2 separate regions of the Homo sapiens genome follow, and region 2 is linked to region 1. Evidence: promoter capture Hi-C in 16 types of primary human blood cells and fetal thymus (Javierre and others, 2016). All regions are on one chromosome and are shown on one strand. Each heading gives the region's core, a stretch centred on a gene start or on the middle of the fragment in contact. The rest is flanking DNA. Distances are from core to core; before and after follow the strand shown. Region 1 holds the start of SHISA3 (shisa family member 3). Region 2 has its middle 17 kb from the start of GRXCR1.

Region 1 (4,989 bases), core at 290-2,789:
ATACAATTGAAACAACACTCCTAAAAAACAACTAGAGTTAAAAAAAAGATTAAGTCTGGCAAGACCTTTTTTTTGTAAATAAAAAACCCAATATCTAAGAAATTTCTGCAAAACAATTTCCCATATGCTTAAACTATTTAACTAAAAAACTGTTTCATTGTTTGTTATTGAAAGCTCCAACTTAATTTGTTTTTACTTAATAGCTTCGTATTGTCCTAAGAAATATGTAACTCTAAGAGAGCAATAAAGTTAAATATTTACACGGTCCCACTTAACGTGTGAAATGGACATGTATTTTCAGCAGCCACATAACTAAATGCTAATCCCAATACCTAAAATTAGAAATCAGAAGTAATTATTTAATTGGAATATACTTTAACTTAGATAAAAAAAAAAAAAAAAGAAATCGTTTTAATAGGAGATTTTTAAAAAAGTTTCTCCGGAATCGACTCGGTTCATCAGGAAGCTGCGAACGTGATAAATGCGTTTGACCGCGCACCTTGTGTCGCTGGAGCTGAGAACACTTTGTTCCTTTTGTTTCACTCAACTTGCCGACATCTAACTCAGGGACACGGGTATGCAGCTTGTTTGACAAATAAGCCGAGATACACCGAACATATTCACACATACCAATAGACGATGATTGGAAGTTCAGGATGCAGTCAAAATAAATGCTTGCGTTTGGCCCAGGTTTCACATAACACCAGTTTCATAAGGCACTTAGGCCGCTAACGGAGCAGTGCCCCTGAAAATAGCCCACAGGGGACACATCATTTAAATAAATGTGTTTCTTTCCCTGAACAGAAGTTCAGTTCTGCTCAATTATCATTAATTTTGCTCCTTTATTTCCTTTGCGGGCGTGAACGGAGAAGTCGTGCTCTTTGAGGTTTTGCGAGCTGGCCTTGGCTGGCAGAGGTGACCGGCAATCCTTCAGCCGGCGGAAAAAGTGCGAGTGTGTGTGTGTGTGTGCTTGTGAAAATGTGCCGTTCCTCCCAGAAAAAGTGGAAACGTAGGTGGAAAGCTCAGCACATGTTGGCGACACCTAAAAACCATGTTCTCGGTCCTGAACCTTTAGAAGCGGTATCCCAGGAACGAGTCTGAGTCTGTGCAACAGGGCACAGATGATTCGACAAACTTCAATGACTGCACCGCATTCATGCATTATATCCATTGAAAAGTAAATCCAGCGTCTCCACTCGCGCGCCCACGTGCGTGGATAAACGCGGGAATTCGGCAGCCCTCAACGTCACTCTGCAGAGATTTCCGGGCTGTGAGAGAGTTGGGGTGTGCGGCGGGGGAGGGGAGGGTCTGATATCTTCAGGTTGAGAGTCAAGTCCTGGGGGAGCGGCATGGGCGGGGGTGGCCGGGGGGAGGCGGAGGATGGAGCGCGAACCAGAAAGCGCAGAGGACCCTCGGCCCGCGCCGCACCCGCTGTGATTAGCTCCAGAGGCGCGATCCGGGAGGGCGGACTCTTTCTTAACCCTCATTGTCTCCTCCTCCCTCTTCCTTTTTAAAAGACGCCTTGCGGGCAGAGCTGTCAGCAACCCCGCGGCCGTTTGTACTTGGCCGCGGCGGAGCTGACTCCTGCTCCTGTGACAGATAGGGGCTGGGGCTGAGCGGCCGCCTGTCTGGGGTACTCGCACGTGGGGAACAAATTCTTTTCCTCCGGCTCCTCTCGGGACCCGGCGATCGCCACAGGTTGGGACTCTGTGCGGCGCTGGAGTTGGCAGCCCCGGGCGCTATGGCTCCCTTGAGGAGTGGGGAGGGAGGTGGCCGGGGGGTTGGCGCGCCCCTCGCGCGGGGAGCGCTATGAGCCGGGCGAAGGGCGGCAGCGACAGCCCCAGCAACTGCCTCTGCCGGCGCCTCCCGCAGGCCCTCGCCAACTCGCCCCGCGCACCATGCTGACTCCCGGCCTGCGGAACTCGTAGTGCAGCCCCTGTCGCCTCCCCGGCCCCTGCTATCCCACGCAGGACTGGCTTCGGCCGCCGGGGCCAGCAGCTTGCGACGTGTCCCTGGGGAGGCGGAATCGCTGTGCGCCCTGAGCCCGGGCTCAGCCCTTCGCTTTCCAGCTGCGTCCTGCTCCCGGCCGCCCAGGGAGCCCAGTGGCGATGAGGGCACTGCTGGCGCTTTGCCTTCTCCTTGGCTGGCTGCGCTGGGGCCCGGCGGGCGCCCAGCAGTCCGGAGAGTACTGCCACGGCTGGGTGGACGTGCAGGGCAACTACCACGAGGGCTTCCAGTGCCCAGAGGACTTCGACACGCTGGACGCTACCATCTGCTGCGGCTCCTGCGCGCTCCGCTACTGTTGCGCCGCGGCCGACGCCAGGCTGGAGCAGGGCGGCTGCACCAACGACCGCCGCGAACTGGAGCACCCAGGCATCACTGCGCGTAAGTGCGGGGCCCTCGGGGACATATCCCCGCCCGCCTAACGGCGGCGGCTGCATGTGTGCGCGGGAGGATGCACAGACCCAGGCAGGTCTATGCGCCTTCCTGGGTCTGTGCGCCAGGGGGACGCGGCCGGGTGGGGGAATCAAGGGATGAGTGGGTGGTCGCGTTTCAGATCATGGTCCTCTATTCATTTGCAGTCCCGCTTCCCGCCACTTGCGGTCTCTGCGGGTCGGCCCGCAGGGAAAGTTTGCCAGGGACAGTGAGGAGCGCGGGGCTTGTGCCTGGTAGCCGGGGGGAAGACAGCTGGAGCTCCCGGGAGAAGGGTAGTGCGGGTAAAGCCAGGGTAGACTTGGGTTTTGGTGGAGGGGCCGAGGGTGTCCCATTGCTCGCCCTTGTCACTTCGGGAGCTTCGGGAAGTGCCGAATGCAGGGAATCGCGACTCTTGTCGCGCGCTCATTTGCAGCCCTTCAGGGCTAAGAAACCCCAGTCACTTTTTTTTTCTGTCTTAATGATAGCGTTTCTAAGCCACGGCCCCGTTCTGCAGACTTCCTTTCAATTCTCTGCATCGAATTACCCTCTCCGGCCCACCCCCTATTGTCACGCCTTTCAGAAATGCCCAGGTCTTCGAGGTGGAGATTTAGAAACAAGGGTCGAAGGGGCTTCCCCGCCCCCTATTCTCACTTCGGAAAACACGGGTCAAATTTCCGCTGACTTCAGAGCGGAATAAATCACGACCCCAGCAGAGAAAATTTACACCTTGAAAAAAAGTTTTCCACCTGAATCGGAACATCAGGGAAACGCTTTAGAGCTTGAGGCGAGGGTTTTATGGCCAGGGAAACCGGAGAAGCGGGCGGAGCTGAGAGCGGGTGACACCCCAGGACTCCAGAGAGCCGAGGTCTGGAGCCCGCAAGAGAAGGTCGCCGGGAAAGGGAAGAGAGGCTGGAGAGATCATTAAGGGTTCCCCAACGGCCCCTCCCCGCAAACTGATAACCCAGAGGACAGGGGAGTCTGCCCTCCATTAGTGCTCCACTAGAGGGTGAATGTTGGGGGTCAACATTTCCAATCTAGAGGATTCTGGAAGTAGTTCTGGAGAAAAGATGCTCAGCGGAAAGTAGGGAAATCTAGGCCCTCCTGGCCTGTTAGAAAAATATAGACTCTTCCCCACGGCTTCACTCGCTCACCCTGGGGGACCCAGCTGCCCTCTGGGAGTAAGTGCAATTGCCCAGTCTGCAGCACGGGCTTCCTCTGCGCTCCCTACTCGGCTCGGATGCCAGAGGACAGCAGAAGGGAGAGGCAGTCTCCACACTCACTGAGTCTGGGATCAGGCAAACCCTGATGGACCTTGGCTCTGTCACTTGCCGGCGGTGTAACTTGGGCAAGTTACTTAACTGCTCTGGATACCTCTTCTCAGTTCTAAAGTGGGCATATTGCTCTCAAAGGAGTTAAGTTGTTGGTGACGTGAGAGTGTATGAATGCTGGAGCGCAGGGCTCAGTAAATGGTAGTTACTTACCTTTGCCTTGCCTTGCACGCTGGTGCTAGTAAACAAGGGAGAATGGGAGGGACACAGAAGAGCTTACGCCTAGTAGCCCACAAATAATTGATAGTTACCTGTCCCTCACTAGCTCTGTCTGTGGGAATGCGCAAACTTCTCTGATGTATTTCCACATCTGGAAAATGGAGCTTATCATGTCCATCTCACAGGGTCTCCAAGAGACTTTAATCAGATAATGAATAAGAAAGAGCCAGGCACACAGTAGGGACTTAGTCAATGCAGGCTTTCTTTCTTCTACCTGTAAGCTGGAGGCTGCGTCTTAGCACGGCTCTATCAGGGGAGAGACCTGGAGAACTGCCCAAGGGGATGCCTCCGGGCTTGGGAATTTTATGTCTGCCTTGTAGAGAGAGAAGGAAATTGGAGTTTGCTCTGTTTGAGGGATGCTTTTATAGAAAGTCTGGGCCGTGGACACCAAGAATTGCCTGGTGATCTATCTAAAGTTCAGTCTGACTTCCCAGGCTTGGATGGGAATTGAGAGGCACGGCAGCTGGAGTGGGTATTCCAAATCTTTCCTGGAAAGAAGCAGCCAGAGCTGGCAATTTGTGGTGTATGGTAGGAGACACAGTCGATTGGGGCCCTCTGTGAATTTCTTTATACTGTTCTTTCTGGAGTCTCATAAAATCCTGGGTCTGTGTGTAGAGGGGAATCTCATTTAATAGGCCTGGCTCCCTTTGCTTAGACTGGAGATTATTGAATGGGAGATGGATTGCCAGCCTAAGAGAGGGGACAAGTCTCTTACTGCTCACCGTGATCAAACTACTAAAACCTGCATTTAAACCTAGAATTATTTTAACCCCTAAAACTCACCCTTTCCCTCTAGTGCCTGAACAGGAGAACAGATTCCGTTTTTTTTTTCTGACTTCCAGATGTGCAATATGATAGTTAATTGCTAACAGAGGCTACGGTATCCGTTTGCTTCCTCCCTGCTAGGAGTAGCGAGAATATTCCATCATCACGGTTTGCATTGCATTTTGGAGGTTACCATTAACAAGCTCTGAAAAACTGAGCTGACAGCAGTGATAGTAACTGAGTCTCCCACCTCTCAACCCTC
Region 2 (4,582 bases), core at 340-2,839, 480 kb after region 1:
TTAAATAATCCACAGACACTTGAACATGAATAGGGATCCACTTTTCACTAATCTTGGAGCGTTTCTAAGTACAACTCTTTAGTTAGAAGAAACTAATGAAATGTTGAATGAAAAGATAAATGATTCAATAAATAAAATGATAAACTGACAGGAAATGAAAACTTGACTTCCAGAGCAATTATATACCATGACAGTCATGTTGCTGTGCATACATTTAGTCAATGGAAGTAAAAAACAGCCATGAGGAATATCATGTCTCTTTTGCAGAGGGAGACCAAACTTAAATGCCTAGACTCATTAGCCAGAATTACCTTAGAGTAGCATAGAATTTTAAAAATAAAATCCTTCAGTTTTAGCAATATGCTTACTTTTCTTATGCTAAACCTCCTTGCAGGTTTCCTTATGCAGTTTAGGGGACTTAAGCCAATATTTACACTCCATTCTATTCCATAGTGATTCAATATTTTTAGGTGTTTGATGTACATATCGATTATTCATCCCTTCTCTTATGCCATCTCTGATACAAATCTTTAAGGGCTAGGATGATACTTTTAGATCATCAATGATTTTCCACAAATTGACTTTGGAGAATTCAATATTGACATGCTGAACAAGACAGATCTATGAAGAAGGATTTATTTTAGCATACGCAAATTAAATAGATTCATACACTTAGATTAAGAATTGTTCTTTAAAAGAGTCTTTAACATTTAACTTCAAAATTTTCTATGATATAGAATACAAAGTGATATATATAAAAGGAATTCCAAAAACTCAAGTGTATGAAACAAACAGGATGAGGGTGTTAACAATAATTCCTTTCTAAAATGTAACTCTCTGCACTTGTTTGAAATTTAGACTTTTATGGGGGATGAGAAACTTCTGAAAAAGATGAAATAAGCTTCCATGAAAATATTATTTTTTGATGAGAGGATATAATTTGCTATGCACTGTGCTTTGCATCAGAATAATATAATTTATTTATGAAGGACAATTACTTTCCTTAAGAAGGGAGCTGAAAGCAGACTATAGACTAGGAAATATCTCATTCTTTTACTGTGTACTTACTCAGAACAAAGAGAATTATTTTCTCTGAAGAAACTCTATTTTTAGAATACCACTATTTTACACACAAATGATTCAAGGTAGGCTTACAAACTTTGGGAGGTTAAAATATTCATGTTCAAATAGTTCTGTGTTGGTATTTGAACTGCACGGTAACCTGAAGAGGAAAAAGCTGAGCAGGCCACTTTTTGGTTGGGTGAGAATTGACTTTGTTCATATACATATGGGCAGGGCCAAGGGCAATGCTAGGTACATGAGATGTGCTTAAAACATGTATGCTGAATAAATTAATGGGATGAGAAATTAAACAATTGCAATTGAAAGGGAAAAGTGAAAAGATAAAGATGAAGATTGATTTTCTGACTTTTTGAAAAGTTACTGGCATTCAACTTCAAGTCAAATGCTCCATTAATATAGGACACAGACTGGCAGGAATAACATAATAACTGGGACTAATTTTATCTTGTGGTGCCTCACTTTCACCAATCTTGAAAGCGAATATGTTAATATTTATCTTCTATCTTTATTTTTCCTATGTCTCCTTTTCTTTAGTTGTTTCATAACGTAATTTATTTTTATGTTGCTATATAAGCTACCTCATATGCATTTTTGTAGGCTTCTTTTAATCCCTATCAGAATGGGGTAGAGTAAATATGAATATAAATAATCATAGCTGTTTTATTTTAAATTAGTTCCCCTATAAGTAAGCCTTCATAAACTCTTTGTAAACAAACATTTGTAGACATATATGAAAGGTCATTATTAACACTCTCTCTGTGTATTGCTTAGTACTATTTTAAGTAAAATATAAGGTTAGTCCCCCCATTGTAAGTCCACAGCTAATGTGATCCTGGAGATCCTCATTCTGTTGGTCCATGTTAGTATTAGCATGTGACTCAAACATTTAGTGCAAGTTTTCCCATCTGTAAAATCTGTGTTTCATAATTCACTATTATCACAAATATTATGAGACTAAATAAAGTGATAGGCATTGTTATTTGTCTGTTTCACCTATGACAGGCATTGTTCTTTGTCTGTTTCACCTATTTGTTCTTTTCCATCCTCACCCCTGCCAGGGGGGATTTCCCCTACAATAAAACGTCATACTTATGCTGTGAGATGTGATCAATATTGACAAGACTGGAGCCCGTTCCTGTATAGGGGTGAGTGGAGACTGATGTAGTGGCTTTGGCCCACAGAGTGGCAACAAAATGAAGCTTGGGCCCTGGCAGGAGGGCAGAGAGGCAGAGAAGGAAGAGGGTAGCAGGGAGAAGGAAATCCTGAATGCTTTCCCAAGGCTGGTTTTATTGGAGAGAAAGATGACCCTATGGAGATCACAAAGAAATGAATGGCCCATCATCTGGATCCCAGTATGTTCCTGATGATATGCTACTAAGAATGTGCCCTTTCTGGTAATAAAATTATTTATTACTGGTTCCTCTGGATGCTGCATGACGCTAAATAAAGATTACATATGTATGAGTATTGTGGCATATGCCCATGTTTCATTGAATCTAAGATGCAATCAGCTGAAAGATACATCCTTATTTTATGAACCACTAAGAAAGGAAAAAACCCTACTAACTTAACCATGAGGCAGTATTTTATTGTCACTTGAAATTTTTATTTTAAACATGTGCAAAAAAGCTCTTCTGAATGTATTTATACATAGATTTCCCTCATTTATCACTCTTGAGTATATATATAAAGGCAAATAAATGTAAAGTAAATTTATTCAATGTTCCTAAATGTATTCATATTCAGTCTGAGTTTTCCGAATTACTTTTCCACTTAGAGTTATTGATGTATGTGCTATTTCCCTCAATGCTGTTGGTTCTTCCTGCAATCGAGGGCATTGATGATGCAGCATTTCTTAAAATCGTGCTTTGCTATTGTCTCTGGAATCTTCTTCAAAGCCAGTGACACCCAGTCTAAGCTTTAATGTGCAGGCAATAACAACTATTTCATGACTGTCACTGACTGATCTGAGGATCAGGTGTGCACCAGTTTCAGAGTTGTTAAAATGTGAAGACAAAATGCATGCTTTAGAATGGATAAAATATGGGAATAAATACTCAACAGTGCTAAGATCCTCAGGATTCTCCTTTAAGTAGCTGAACAGCATTCTAGATTGAGCTTCTCACATGCATGTGCTGGGGAACATATGTTGCAGGATTCCATAGCCTGGCGGAACAAATGATTCCTAAATTACAATAGCTCTGAACTTTCAACTGACAGATGGCAGAGCCTCAGGTTCCCCAACTCCAAAGCCTCCATGATTTCAGGAAAGGGAGAGTGCAGTGAGTCTCATATGGAAAACCACACAATATTCTGAGGCCAGCCCCATGTGGCAGGCTTTCCGCATTTGGCTCATGCTTAGCAGTACCCAACACACCTGGAGCTGCCTAGAGATGACTTATGGATGTCAACTGCTGCCTCTGCCCCTTGCAAAGCTACAATATCCATGCCAAGGGTGCTGTCTTCTAATGCTCCCAGGGATCGCTAATCCCTAGAGTGTCAGAGATATAGGAGTTTTCATACAGAAGTGGGGACAATGGTCTTCTCCTCAACTCCTTGTCTTATTTTATTCTCTGGATCTCAAAGCATCAAGGCTTATTCTGAGAGTTTACAGAGTCTTCCAAGAGGCTCTAAATTTCCAGCTGTAATCTTAGGGCTTTAAACCATTCCAAGGTTCCAAGAGGGAGACAGATACAAAATATCGTCTTCATCATTGACTTGCACCCCACCATCTGAACTCATCAATGTCCTTTTTGCTTCCCTGCTTGACCCTGAAAAAATACAATAATACTGTCTCTTCCCTCCCTCCACCAATACTTCTTTTAGCCACAAATAGGAGTGATACCTGTACACTGCAATTTGTGCAAAGCAAAGAGGCAGAGGAGGTATAATGATTGATGTCCTCTCATACTTGTTTTTAGCCAACAGGAATGACCTTTTACTCAATTTGTGCACACTTCCTCCTCTTTGTAATGAATGTAAGATTATAAACTACTGGACAGCAAACATTGTCTCAAATATCCTTTATGAATATTTTCTAATGGTGAGCAGTTAACATAAACAATCAATGAAATTTACTTAGTTTCTAATATGACTGATATATTCATACTATAAAAGATTCTATCTGTGGCCAGGTGCAGTAGCTCACACCCATAATCCCAGCACTTTGGGAAACAGAGAAAATAAAAACCAAATCAGTGAGATTATTTTACAATTCCCAGTTTACATATGCAAAGATTTGGAAACTGTACTAACTCATTTTGCAAGAGGCGCTGCAGGGCAGATGAAGATATCTTAATGTTCTTCAAAAGTCCTCTCTTCAGTGTGTAATTGGAACTTTCAAGAACTTTCAAGAACTGAAAGCTATAGTTTCTTGGGTGATGTGCTTTTCCAGGCACAGAGCTCATAATCAATATTTCATCATGCTTTCTCTTCGGGGGAACTTTCCTCTCACTGGCCTCTTCTGGGTACCTCTCATTGGTCTCTTTTGCATGCTCTC

Evidence for each region. Contacts are between HindIII fragments. The CHiCAGO score rates a contact against its expected background, and 5 or more counts as called.
Region 2: a fragment that was not itself captured here is called in contact with the fragment with the promoter of SHISA3 in region 1 in 1 of 17 cell types (naive CD8 T cells); the score reaches 5.6 in naive CD8 T cells.

The regions. Positions count from the first base shown.
Region 1 is chr4:42,395,949-42,400,937 of GRCh38, forward strand. SHISA3 (shisa family member 3) reads left to right here and starts at 1,540. Exons shown (of 2, transcript NM_001080505.3): 1 at 1,540-2,385. The coding sequence starts at 2,109. RefSeq lists silencers at 1,284-1,363, 3,004-3,053 and an enhancer at 1,588-2,477. The HindIII fragment of the contact is 26,425 bases long and covers 1-4,989 here.
Region 2 is chr4:42,873,817-42,878,398 of GRCh38, forward strand. No RefSeq gene overlaps it. Among named protein-coding and RNA genes, the nearest start is that of GRXCR1, 17 kb to the right of the region's middle. The HindIII fragment of the contact is 1,381 bases long and covers 900-2,280 here.